Regions from separate parts of the Homo sapiens genome. Here all the other regions are linked to region 3. The links are contacts of gene promoters, found by promoter capture Hi-C in blood cells and fetal thymus (Javierre and others, 2016). All regions are on one chromosome and are shown on one strand. The core of a region is centred on a gene start or on the middle of the fragment in contact, and the rest is flanking DNA. Distances in the headings are between cores, read along the strand shown.

Region 1 (3,403 bases), core at 153-2,652, 840 kb before region 3:
CCTCTAAATAACATAAAGTGATAAAATCAGGCTTCAACCCATAACATGGGAGTTTTATGTTGGAAGTAACCTTAATAGACCACAGGGTCTAAATTTCTCCTCCTCCAGGCCACGAAATGGAAACCCAGAGGGGTGCTTGCCCAAAGTCAAGGATCTGGTTAAACAGCTGAGCTAAGAAACAAACCTAGGCCTCCTACCAAGCAATCCCATGCACTATTAGACAAGCTTATCTTCTTTACAAAGTCCCTTAAAATAAAAAGCATGCATCATTATTGTATAAACTGTCTTCAAAATAAGACACACATAAAGCTCATAAAAATATAACTCTCCCTTTGACATATTTACCTGCAAACAATGTCAGTCATTAAAACATATATCTGTGTCCTTGATATTAGCAACTATTTTTCTTTTTGGCCTTTTTAAAATTTACAAAGTGTTGTGGGAGAAGACCTGGACTGCCAGCAGGGAGTAGCCCTCGCTTATGGCCTCAACCGACACACACAACTTAGCTGCTGCCCCTCCTTCTGCTGAGAGACCTAGGGCAGGTCCATCAGAGTCCTTGGGCTACATGCCCTGGAAGGGAACTCCTGAGAATGCAAAGCTCTGAGAATGGCAATCCAGAGCAGCCAGGGGCCAAATTCCCCACTAGACTTTGCAGCTAAGACAGGAAAAAAAAAAAAAAAAAAAACAGAAGTGAAACATGGGAAAGACAGAAAACCTAAAGTGAGACGTGCTGGTAAATCAGTTCTCAGCCAGGAGATTGGGTGATGACGACTTTTATTCTCTTTGTTCTTTTCTGAGTTACTTAATCTTCCTACAATAAACATGAATTTTCTAATGAGAAAACTATGTCATGAAGTAAGGGCAGGGCTGATAATCAAACAGAACATGCTCCCTTTATGGAAGGCTGAGGCCTCCTCTGATTAGGTAAAACCTTGGGTATCACCCTGAGTATGGGGTACAAAACAAAATACAACTTGCTATGTAATCTATCAGCCTGACTGCAGGAGTAAAGGTGAGATCTTTTCTGGGTGTGGCCTTGATTTGGAAATATTTTAATTTTCTTTTAACACTAACCGCAGACTTTTCTCCATAATCCCATCAATAATAATATGATAACGATCCATGAAAATTCAACTATAAAACTTGAGGCCAATTAGAAGCACACAACCTCCTGAGTGCTTCCCATTAGCACCCTCTTCAAAACAACTAGCCGACCAGCTCTGCAAATGTCAGCCTTTGCATTTTCTAAAGCCTCAATTCTTCTTCCTCAAAGACTTCCCCTTCTTTTTACCAAGTCTTACCTTCAGACTTATGCCACAGATTTAGTTTCCTCCTAAACAATGTAGTGCTATTTCCCTTCTGAATTTTAAGTTTTGGCTTATTATGCTTCTCTCTGGCCTCCATTCATTCCTAAAATGAATAGCTAGTCCCCTCTGCTAGCTTAAGGCAAACTGCCTAATCTCACGTCTTATAGAAGGAATTCCATTCAACACACAGCAGCCTAGAGGGATACTAGGAAATTCATACGTTTCACAAATACTTCCACTTAAAAGGCAACATACTTCTGGCAGTTTTAAATAACATGGCTTGCCAATGCCTGACATAACATTTGGGAATTATAGTCACAAGAAACTATATTTCAGATTTTATTCTAACATAAAATTCTAAGGGCACAAAAGTTAAAAATACAGGTAATCCTATGGCCTTAAACTATTTTTTTTAAGAACTAAGAAACACAGTACGTTGATGATTAGGTGAGCAAACCAAGCCACAAAAACCTACTCATCCTTAAGTCCTATAAAGTCTAACTACCATGTATCAGAGTGGACTAAGGGAAAACCCAAGCTCTGTAGCCCAGGCAAAGGCAATGGGGATTTCCTCTGCCTGGTCTAGATCACCCAGTGTAACTCAAGGCAGGGCTTCAAGCAACCCATTGCTCAAAGTAGTCTGTGGGCAGTGATAGTGGGAGGATGGGGAGGCCCTCCAGGAAGGGGACTTCACAAAGGATGGGGATGGGGAGGTGAGGTGAGAAATGAAATGGGCTGTGGCACACGATGAGATATGGGAATGACCACCTTCTGGGCAGGCTCTCATTCTTTCATTCCAAGAAGCATTTATTAAAGACTGGCTAGGGCGAGGGAACCCAGCTAGGTGCTGGGGATAAAAAATAAGAAATAACTGAAGGACCTTGCTCTTAAGGAACTCCATCTTACTGGGTGGAGCCAAACGAGAAGAGAGAGCTCGGTAGGGCACCAAAGCGTTCTGGCAGAAATAGCATGAGGCAGGGGGAAGGGTCACGCTTCCTGGAAGAGCCACACAGACCGAGTCCCAGGGAGCCCAGAGGGCGGTCCCTCTGCCCGCAGCACTGCCTTCACGTTTACTTCCATCCCGGTCTCCTCCTTCCCCTAGTGCTTGGCATGCAACATCCCTGCTTCTCACCCACCTTTTATTTAAGTCTCCTATTATCTGCACACAATGGAAGTTAGGACACCTATTTCCTACCAACTTATGAACTTAGAAAGTTGACATTAAAAGGGCACAAAACAGGAACTCAAAACCCACAAGCTCAAGCTTCAAAGGTGAGAACGTCCCATTTCACAAATGGCGGTTGAGGGTTCCCACTTCACCACTCCACGTTTCTCCTCCGGCTCCTTCACCACAGCCTCACAGACCCACACTTGATTTCTCACTCTCTTGAAAATTTACATTCAACAGTTCCTCTCACACCCAAGAAAACCAGAGGTCCCAGGGCAGCACGTGTAAGATTTCACTCTAAACGATTCTGCTTTAAGTTGCAGGCTCAGTAGAAGCACATACACCAAAATAACAAAAGTTATGTTGGGTAGGGGAATAATGTAATCTTTTTATTCTTCTGTATACTGTTGAAAAACTGTAAAATAAACATGCACTTCTTGTGTAATAACAACATGATGTTAACAAAAAAAAAAAAAAAACACAGAAAACACATGCAACAACATGGATAAATCTTGAAGACATTACGCTAAATGAAAGAAGCCAATCCTAAAAAGACAAGTAACGTATGATTCTCCCTCCTATGAAGCACGCAGAGTAGTCAAATCCACAGAGACGGAAGTAAAAGGGTGGGTGCTACGGGCTTGAGCGGGAGGGAGGAATGAGGAGTTATTGTTCAATGGGCACAGTTTCAGTTCTACAAGATGAAAAGATTTCTGGAGACGGATGGTGGCGATAGTTGCTCTGTAACATGGGTATACTTAACGCCACTCAACTGTACACTTAAAAATGGTCAAAATGGTAAATTTAATGTTACGTCTATTGTACCCCAATTTAAAAAATAACTAAGTAAAAAGAACAGTTTTCAGGAATGTATTTGGTGCAAAATAAGGTCTATCTGTATTTAACAGCACGTGTCCTTTCCTAT
Region 2 (3,166 bases), core at 153-2,652, 920 kb after region 3:
CTGAAAATCTATCAATGTGAAGTATACAAAATATGCAGCTTTTCCCCTTGCCCTGCTCTATACTCAGAATTAGGCATCACTGATGTCTACTTGATTTCTCCTCTTGAATGTCTCCAAGGCAACCAAACTCATATGTTTTCTTTGCAAACCTGTTCCTTTTCTGGTTTCCTTATCTCGGTGGATAACTTCATCAGCCAGTTGTGCAAACCAGAAATCCAGGAGTTATTTGTTTCTCCTAGCCTTCCACCATCATATCCAATCCATCAGAGTCCTTCAATTTTACTTCCTATATCTATCTCAAACAGATCCATTTCTCTTTGGCTCTGCCACCACCCTAACTCATCATCTCTCCCCTAAACAATTACTGCTCCAAAGGGCATCCACTCCATCCTTTGTCAAATGCATTCTCCACACTGCACTACTTTATTCAACAAATATTTTTAAGGAACCTACTTTGTACTGTAGTGAATAAGACAGACGAGGAATTTGTGGAAATAGAAGATAAACATCAGGCAGTCAAAAGCACTACGAGGACAATCAAAGTCGGGTGATGAAATAGAGAGTGGCTAAATGACTATTCTAGACTGTGTTCAAACACAAGAAATCGGTGGCAGTTTTAACAAGGGGTATTAGTTTTGACACAGGAAAATGAAGGAAGTCCGCTGGGACGATGGTATCTGCTCCTAGCATATAAGGAGTGTGTTTCTGATACTGGCCAATAATAAAAAGGAGGTTAAAATGTACATGAACATTCAATCTAGGGCTGTTTGTCTCCAATTACCTCTGCTTAAACATAGCACTTACTACCTATATGGAAGTATCTTATTTTTGTTAACTTCTGTATGTCTCCCTTCTTTAGAATGTAAGCTCCATGAACATGCGGGCCATAACTGTCTTGATCTCTGCAGTAACTACAGTGCCTAAGAGAACTGAGCCTGGCATTACGGTAGGCATGCAAATAAGTATTTGTTGCATTAACGCACAAATTGCTGAGTGAAGCAGGAGAGTAGACAGAGAATATAACGGATTGGGTTTGGGGGCTGAGGAAGTCTCTGCTGAGCTGTCAAGGTCATTTACTTCCCCTTGCAAGGTTAACTGGGTTATAAAATCCCGGCCACGCTTTAGCACCAAGCATCAAGCGCTCACACTCTAACTTATACACACGCTCACAGCCACAAACCTCTCCAACTCCCCGCTAGGAGGAGTCACACCTCCCCACCCAGAAACCCTCCCACCCTCTCCTCTATTTCTCCTTCCCTCCCCTCTCCGCGGGGTTCCGGCAGGCTTCGAATCACAATGCTCGCCGGGAATAGTAGTCTTCCGGTCCGAGCCTATGGCGTTTTTAATGCATTTCCAGAACTACGCTTCCCAGGGAGCCTCGCGGCATAGTGAGGCTGAGTCACCTGACCAAGACCCTGGAGTTACAATGGCGGCGCCCATGCTGCGCTGGGGCTGCCGTGGAAGACGTTGGGCTTTCGCCCGGGTTGACGGTGGTTCTTGCCACCGAAGAGGGGCTCCGACTGGGTCCACATCCAACCAGATTAGGGGAGAGAGCTCAGTGGCTCAGCAGCCCCTCCACACGGCCCAGAAGACGAGGAAAGGGTATTCTGTTTCATACATTTCTGCCCACCTAACTGTGAGGTGGAACTGCAGGACTGGGGAAATAATGGCAATTACGGCCCAGCTTCTAGACGTTTTGGCTGACGGGAGGGCGTTGAGTTATAACCTGGAGCCCCGAAACCTAAATAAAAGCACAAACAGACTTTCTATCAACTCCGCCCCCATATATAAACCACTGTTTTCAAATAGATGTAGTTGGGGAATTCGCGAGTGTAAAATAGCAAATATTTTCTTGAAGGGTGCACAGACAGAAGAGTGGATTCGGTCATCTTACTAATAGCACTAGCAGTGGGGACGGTGACACGAGAAGCGGGATCATATTTAGCTGATTTTATTTAGCGCTAGTATGGGCTGGCAGCGTTCTAAAGGTAGAAAGGGAGCCTTTACCTACAAGCTCTTGGTAGTGGTGGGTTATTGTCATTAGTCAGAAAACACTAGCTATCTGTGCAGGCGTTTTATGTTGGAATATGTGTGACTAGACCTAGGAGGACGCAGCCAAAAGAAGAGATACTCCCCCTGGTTATATGGAGAGTTTTGCTTATTTGGCCAGATATCCCCTGAACAGCTGTTTATGCTTCATTATGTAAGAATTAAATAGTTTCTCTTTAAATACAGAAACATATGGCAAGTTTCTAATATTTTGTTTATTCTTTGAGACTAGTTGGCATTATTTTTACTTTCAGTTGGAGGAACAGAGGGAAATTGTCCAGAAAGAAGTATTCAGTTTTGTATTCTTTTCGTGAATTAGATTGTTTCCTTGTGAATGGAAAGTACATTTTTTCTCTCATGTAATGGAAATGCAAAAATACTTTGAATGGTGCTTTACTGCATGCAGAATTTCTAATGAGTTCCTACTTTAATTCCCCTCCCTTATGGGCTGTGTTTCCAAACTTTAAAAAGAAGGACTTATTCTTGCAGTACTTCAGATATAGAACTTTATATGTTGAAATGATTGAAACAAAACAAAACGATGTAAAATATGTATATATATATATATGTATATACACAAAATTACTTGGGAGAAGAGCAGGATAGGAACATACATGGATTTCATAGGGAATAAGCACATTTATAAGGACCTGGAGAGGCCTATGTACAGACCCAACAGAGTAGGACTGACCAGATAAGAGAGATTATTATAGCATTTAACAGCTTCTTAGATTTGATAGCAAATAAGCATTAAAAAAGTAACCTGAAATTAGGTCTCAGGAATTGAAAGTGATTTGGGGGACCAAAAATATGCCGCATCAGATGGTTTAGTGTGGTGGAGTTTTGCAAAATTTTTTTAAGAGTATCATTTAGTGGTGATTTATTGTATCTGTGTCTCTCTGGTTATTATACATGCAAACCAAAACATGGTTGAGAATTTCCTTTTTAAATAAGAGACGTGGAACTATTTATCATTATTTCTCTAGTAGTAGAATGTTGCCATTTATGTTAATTCTAGATAATGTGGGAAAGATCAGCTTTCATCATTTACTGAGTGATTACTTGATAAGTTACAGTTAATTTGTTAAATGCCGCTTTTCACTGAAGTCAGCCAAGC
Region 3 (3,160 bases), core at 483-2,982:
CTGAAGTTTAAGATGAAAGAAACGAAGGCTGACAACCTTGCCCTTGACAAACATTTGCCTCCAGCCTGGGATTCAACAATGTTTTAATAACATTTAATAATATTTTAATAGGGCATAAATGGTAAAATGGAGAGAACTCCCAAGCCCTGGGCCTGCTTTCTTGCACGTGTGTGTCACAGCTGCAGAAACACGTGCTTGTACAGGAATAATTGCCACCCCAACTCAGTACCAGCAGGTCTTGGAGCCCGTGATCTATTCACATGCTCAGCAAGTGTTTAATTAATAGTTCTTTCTCTGTTGTTTTCAAATCAATCACCCAGTTTTGAGCACGTCTATTTTCTCCTGCTGTTTGTTCTGTATTGTCACCTGTGGTGCAAAAAGCATATTTTATCAAGAATTGACTTAATTGCCAGTTTAAAACATTAAAGTGCATACTGTAAATCCATTAACAAACTGATCCTTACATGAATCACCAACCTATTTCTTGTGAATAATAACTGAGATAAACAGTGACTAATGACATTGAAAAGCAGCAATGCATTAAAGAAAAATTAACAGCTATGTCAGGGGCTAAGGAATTCCAGTCACCTCATACGTTTGCACCAACCAGATCACTGAAGACAAACGACGGGAAGTCATGACTCAGATGGTGATCTGCAGGGAAAGGTTTAGAGATGAGATGTGTCTGATGCCTCAACACTACCCCTCTCTCCATCTGTCTGTCTCTCTTGGCACCACGATTATGAAACTGCATTCTGAATGCTTAGGCCCTAAACCTAAACCAAGGGAAGGACCTCCAATAGAACACCCAACACACACTAATCTCCACTGTATACTAGACACAACCTTTCTGTATTGTTTCGATTGGATAGGATTTCTACCATTATTCTATTTCGTTTCTGTCCTGTTTTGTTTGTTGTCTGAGAACTTGATTGTCAAGTAAGAAGGAAGGAAGGTGAGATGCAGATTCACCCCTACCTCCACCCTCAGAGCATATTCTCCTTTGGAAATGGACCTTGAAAAGATCATTTCTCTCTGGGGAAGCAGAACATAACCTTAAGGTGTGGGTGTGGCATCCACCTCCATCTGGCGTGGGCCTTGGTGGGAGGAGGGCATTCCAGAGTGGAGAAAGGAGAATGGACCTGGCGGAGAGAAGTGGTCTGGCAGTTTTCTGATGATGCAGTTGTCCCTGCTGTCTGGGCCTGCGCTATCCAACACAGCAGCCACTAGCCACTTGGAGTTATTAAAATTTTATAAAAATTCAATAAAATTTAAATTCCATCAGCACTAGCCTCAGTTCAAATGCTCAGTGGCCAATGTGGCTGATACTGTATCAGACGGCGCAGACTTGGAACATTTCCATCAGGGCAGAAAGTTCTACAGGACAGCTTCTTCCTAGGGTCTAGGCAGCCCCGGAGCCTCACCTGGGGGATAAGCAAAATCACAGAGTGAGAATGCGTGTGGTCCAGGACCCCTCCCAGTCCCAGATACCGAACGACATCTGAGCAAGGGACTCTGTTGCCCCGGGGACGGTTTCAAAAGCTGGAGGCCGGGACTCCAAAGGGCTGGAGAGGCGTGATAATAGAACCAGTGCTTCAACAGCAACTTCTCTTTTGCAATCCTTGCTGGTCTGACAGGCTCCTGCAGAATTACATCACTTCCTAAAAAACAGGCACACACCTCTCCTTCAAGTCAGCACCGACCCAAACAAGCAGGAAACAGGAAATGTTCACGTTTCAGAGAGGCTGCAGCCCGGCGCAGCATCCTGAGCGCGCCTCTGCCGAGGCGAGCGGACATGCAGGCTCCCCGCGCAGCCCTAGTCTTCGCCCTGGTGATCGCGCTCGTTCCCGTCGGCCGGGGTAAGCCGCCTCCACTTCCTACTCCTGGGAAGGAGGATCGCAAAAGCTGGTAGGGTGCCCGAGGCTACAGAACTCTGCCGGGGAGGGTGACACCCAGAAAATCTAATCCTTTCTGTGAAAGAAGTGGAGAAAATTAGAACTCCTTTTTTTGGGGGGTGGGATGGAGAGGGGACTTCGCTTTCGCTGCAGCTGTCTAAACTGGCTACAGCTCTCACTTCATTTAACCCTCTTTCAGTCTTTGTCTTCCAGGAAGTGTGCGTCCCTGTAATTTACCAGCTTTAATGGGCATATTAAGAAAACCATAAACTTTTTGGCAGTTTATGTAAAAAAAAACAAAAGCTTCAATTGGCTGAAACAGAGACATGATTAATTTGCTTTTTATGGTGTGGGCTGAGAAGTCTGCTGATTCCAAAATCTCCTGGAAAAACTGGGGTGTGAAAATTTACTACTAGAAAGCATACTAAAGAAACGACATAAACTTAAAAAAAAAAAAAGGAAACGGGAAATTATCCGAAGAGCTACCAAAGAGCTATGTGTTAGAGGGTAGCCCTCTAACACATCAAGTAAGGTCTTTCATCTACTTTTATTGCACCTTGTTACTTTTACAGATTTTTTTTTTGCATTGATTGTTACTAATGAAGATTTGTTTGAAAAAGTAATATGATTGGAACCAATCAAAGGTATTGGAAAAAACAATATTGAATCTCATTATTATGGGCTAAAAGCAACAACTGATTTACACCCTTGCCAGTTGCTACAACAAGCACAAGCACCTTCAGCTGCCTCTCTTGTTGACTTGCCTTTGGGCAAATACACTGGCTGCCCATTGTTTCTGTCAATGAACACCGACTGCTTCTAGTGTAGGGCAGTATTTACCAAGCAAAAGGAAAGTTCTCAAGCTACAGTTCTTTAGATAGAATGAGGGACATCAGCCCCAACCTAACAGATGTGACAACTTCCTGGAGGTCAGCAGCCAGCACCCAGCCACCCCACTCCATCAATTTCTCTTCCCCTGGGTGTTCTCCATGTGGTCCCCCAGGCATCTGAGGTAGAAAACAAAGTGGAAGGCAAATCATTCCAGCTGAAAAGATGTCTGGTTAAATTGAGTTTAGTGTTCAGAGTGGGTTTGGAAGTTGATGTGTTGTTTTATGCCCAGTGTTTTGGAGCTGGAAGGGAACTTGAAGATGATGCAGCTCAAACCATATTGGGCACACAGGTGAAGAAACAGAGGTGGAAGAAGGGAGATGTCTGGGTCTTGCTGCTAGTCAGCTCTTCTGGCTTCTACTCCAGAGTTCTTTGAG
Region 4 (3,531 bases), core at 528-3,027, 820 kb after region 3:
TAATAATACGGGGCATTAGCACTCAACTCCAGCAATGGATTGGAGGCTACTATGACACCCAAGTAATCAGCTCCCTACCAACCTGGTTGTACCCAGAAGAAGGTTCAGAATACTTAGAAGAATGGTAGAGTGAATAAGTTTTAAAACTCTTCCTAAATATCATTTTTCCCAGTCTAACTTCTTTATTCTTAGCTGGCTATGAACCCAAGATGGTCCTCCCCAACAAATAACTGGAGAGCTGCCAGGGCACCCTGGGAACATAGGCCAGGGGCAGACCTCAATCTCCTAGGAAGCCGAGGGACCTGGAAGGGATTGGCCTCAATTCACAATGAGAAGGATATGGGTAGGATGAGGAGGGAAGAAAGGAGTTTCCAGGTCCTTCATATAAGCCACTAACGCAGGAAGAAAACCATAGAGTGCTTAGAAGACACTGTTTGCAAGGAACACGCCCGGGCCCCCTGCCCCCACTGATACGTGTGGCTTGCTCCCTCACTCCCTCACCCTTTGAGTTCTCTGCTCAGATGTCCCCTCCTCGGACCACCCCATCTAAAACAGCCTCCTCCTGCCCCCGCCGGGACTCACTAGCCCCTTATCCTGCTTCACCACAATTATCACTACCAGAGCTCCAAACAGGTAGTTGAAGGAAATAAAATTATAAGTGGAGGACACAACAAAGGCAAAACCCTGGGGCAGGAACACACTGCTGGAGCACAATCCATGAGGGCGAGAGTGTACAAAAATGCTGTCAGAGAGGACACTCAGGACCACGAGGTAAGGCTTTGGATTCTGCATCAATCAGCTCTTGCTGCATGGCAACGACAGATGTTCAGTGGCACACAGCAGCAAGCGTCTCACTGCACATCATCGGCTCAGCCCGGACAGGCCTCCTCCACGTGTTTCATTCTGGGACCCAAGATGCAAAAGGCAGGAGCAACTGCTCTTGTTCTTGTCCTGGCAGTGGCAGACATGAGGAGCGTAAATCCAGCCGCACAGGCTCATGACAAGCATCTGCTGGCGTGAGGGCCACTGCCGTCCCAAGGACAAAGCACATGATGTGACTAAGTCAAATCAAGGGACCGGAAATACACCAGGGCCACGGTGAGGCTGCGGCAGAGTACGAGTTATCAAGTATCATGAAAATGGGGACAGGAATTCATTCTATCACAGGGTAACGTGACGGGGGAGACATTGTGTGTGGGAGGAAGGCATTGGGCAGAGCAGTGGCATGACTGGATGTGCATTTTTTGGCATCCTCTCTGGCTGTTGCATGAACAATAAACCCATTCCAGGGGGCCACAGTGGAGGCAGAGAGACCCTGCTGAAATATATCCAATGATGAGCACCGAACATAGGCTCACTGAGGTCTTGCTGTGTGCCAAGAGGATGTTGACCTTGCCTTAGACACCCTGCATGAAACTAGGGGGGCACCAGGAACCACAGCCTTGAGGAAAGGGATGACATGTTCGGTTTTTATTCCCATGGTACTCCCAGCCCTAGCACAGACCAACTAGATGGGAGACCGAATAAGAAAGCAGGAGGCCCCTGCTCCAGTGCCCAGGTGGCTGATAAAGGCCGCTGTGGACATCATGGGAGTGGAAATAGCCACGCGGTCTGGATGGGAACCCCTGGCGGTACTCATGGGTGTGCAGCGCTCAAAACGAAGGCTGAAAGCAAGGAGGATGGCGTTTGCCTCCTTTTCGCTGTAAAAATAAGACAGCAGGATGGTGAGTCAAAAGAAGCCGGCTGGCTTCACACCCTCCAGAAAGATATGCAAGGGCTTCCCATCTCATCCCATCCCACTTCAACCCTGCGTATGTCACGGCTCAGATCCCCCGACAGAGATGGCAAAGTGAAATGCTCTGAGAAAGCAGCCTTTTGGAAAGCAGACCGTTTTTATAAAAGGAACACATTGTAACCAGGAATTTTTAACTGTGGAGAAATAAACAAGTTCTCTGTGAGAGGGTGGCGACAAGCAGAAGCTGTAGCAAATGTCAAGGCAGAGAGATTCCTGAACTGGGCAGGGTTGAGCAGAGAGGCTTGGTACCTTAGGATCCCCTGGATCCTGGATAGCAGAATCAAGCTGATCAGCAGCCAGGTGGACAGGCAACAGCGTTGATGAGATAGCCTCTTTGTAGCACCACAGAGACTTACAAAAGGACAACATTTTAAGGTCCAAAAGGAAAGCCAAGTTATTCAAAATTTCAAATTAACAGAAATATCAAAAAAATAAGCACACACAACCAAAATGGAAACAGAAGCCATTCAATGTGTCAGATCAAGTCACAGAACTTCTTTCAACTTCAGCTTTTTTCATCTTTAGAATGGGGTGTTTGGACCAAACTACATTTCAACATTTCTTTTACTTCTGAAATTCTATGATCTATTAAAGGGCACCTTGTAAGAAACTCCAAAGAATGTCAAAAACAAAAACAAAAAACTGAGGGCATTCATGGAATGCACAAAGGAATGAAAGAAAAGATAGAAGCGACAATGCATTAATGCTTTGCCTTGCCCTTTACCAAGGAAGATGCATGCCCTTGAAATGGACAGGTTGGAGCATTCAATAAAATCATAGTAGATGCACAGAATGTTCTAGTCTTCTCTGACAAAACAGATATCAATAAATCACCCAGATAGGATGTGATACACCTAGGAATTTCAAATGAATTCATGGGCAGAACTGTGGAACTGTCGACTATGATGTGAGACCAGTTGTTGCAACAGCTGCGGTGCTGCAGGACAGTCGGGTTGCCAATGTTAAGCCTCAGCCTGCTTTTCCAGAGGGGACCCTGGGAAACCAACTGTTAGTTTCTCCCTTCCATACCAGCCAGGCTGCTGGAATAAAGTACAAATTTATCTTTAAATAAAGTACAAAATTGCAGAAAGTTTGAATCAACACACCCATGGAGGCAAACGCAGGATGGGTTCTACATGGAGGAATCAGGTCTGATTTTCAAAGTTCCTTGGGGGTACACAGGGTAAGGGGAGTGAGTCATTTTGCAGGCTTTGAAAATGTCTTTGTCAAGTGTCTACACTAAAACCTGATTATGGGTGAGTAAAGAATGAATGGATCACCATAGGAGTCACAGACTATTCGAAGTGGACAAATAATTAAATTTCAGCAAGGAAAACTGGGTAATAAAAAAGACTCATTTCTTTGTAAAAGGTAAGATCTCTCAGAGGTCAAGAGGTGCCAATCTTTGGTGAATAATTTTATTAAGAGATTTGAAGAACTAGGTGTGCAGTGAAACTCTCAGAGTGGTAGATGACCCCGAGATATTCTAAGTGAAATGGTAAGTCAATAGGAGAGAGCCTTTTCAAGGCTCAACAGAAAGTGGTACAGAAATTTCAACTTCAGGGCAAGTTCAAGTTAAAACACTTTAAGAATAAGCAGTTGTAGAACAATAGCCTAGAAATGACCTATAATGCCAGGAGAAGACCCTGGGAATTATTTGCTCTCCTGAGAACATTAAGCCTAACACAGGACAGTAGCATCCAAAACAATAAAATGCCAGGCACTCCATAAATATT

The links. The method cuts DNA at HindIII sites, captures the fragments that hold promoters and counts their contacts. A CHiCAGO score of 5 or more calls a contact.
Region 1: a contact is called between a fragment that was not itself captured here and the fragment with the promoter of TMEM154 in region 3, in 1 of 17 cell types (total B cells). The highest score is 6.2, in total B cells.
Region 2: a contact is called between the fragment with the promoter of GATB here and the fragment with the promoter of TMEM154 in region 3, in 7 of 17 cell types (non-activated CD4 T cells, naive CD8 T cells, activated CD4 T cells and 4 more). The highest score is 10.1, in non-activated CD4 T cells.
Region 4: a contact is called between a fragment that was not itself captured here and the fragment with the promoter of TMEM154 in region 3, in 1 of 17 cell types (monocytes). The highest score is 6.1, in monocytes.

Annotation. Positions count from the first base shown.
Region 1 is chr4:153,521,417-153,524,819 of GRCh38, reverse strand. All of the region lies in intron 3 of TMEM131L (transmembrane 131 like), which reads right to left. Among named protein-coding and RNA genes, the nearest start is that of TMEM131L, 57 kb to the right of the region's middle. RefSeq lists enhancers at 978-1,818, 1,992-2,041, 3,325-3,403. The HindIII fragment of the contact is 2,349 bases long and covers 228-2,576 here.
Region 2 is chr4:151,759,243-151,762,408 of GRCh38, reverse strand. It overlaps GATB (glutamyl-tRNA amidotransferase subunit B), which reads left to right and starts at 1,402. Exons shown (of 13, transcript NM_004564.3): 1 at 1,402-1,602. The coding sequence starts at 1,427. RefSeq lists an enhancer at 1,407-1,686. The HindIII fragment of the contact is 14,733 bases long and covers 1-3,166 here.
Region 3 is chr4:152,678,569-152,681,728 of GRCh38, reverse strand. It overlaps TMEM154 (transmembrane protein 154), which reads left to right and starts at 1,732. Exons shown (of 7, transcript NM_152680.3): 1 at 1,732-1,859. The coding sequence starts at 1,796. It overlaps LOC105377495 (a long non-coding RNA gene), which reads right to left and starts at 1,644. Exons shown (of 4, transcript XR_939359.3): 1 at 1,425-1,644; 2 at 1,056-1,142; 3 at 589-654; 4 at 67-366. RefSeq lists enhancers at 1,649-1,958, 1,269-2,098. The HindIII fragment of the contact is 2,211 bases long and covers 1-2,200 here.
Region 4 is chr4:151,859,023-151,862,553 of GRCh38, reverse strand. The region is part of intron 2 of LOC127898557 (a long non-coding RNA gene); the gene reads right to left. Among named protein-coding and RNA genes, the nearest start is that of LINC03074, 95 kb to the left of the region's middle. The HindIII fragment of the contact is 9,737 bases long and covers 1-3,531 here.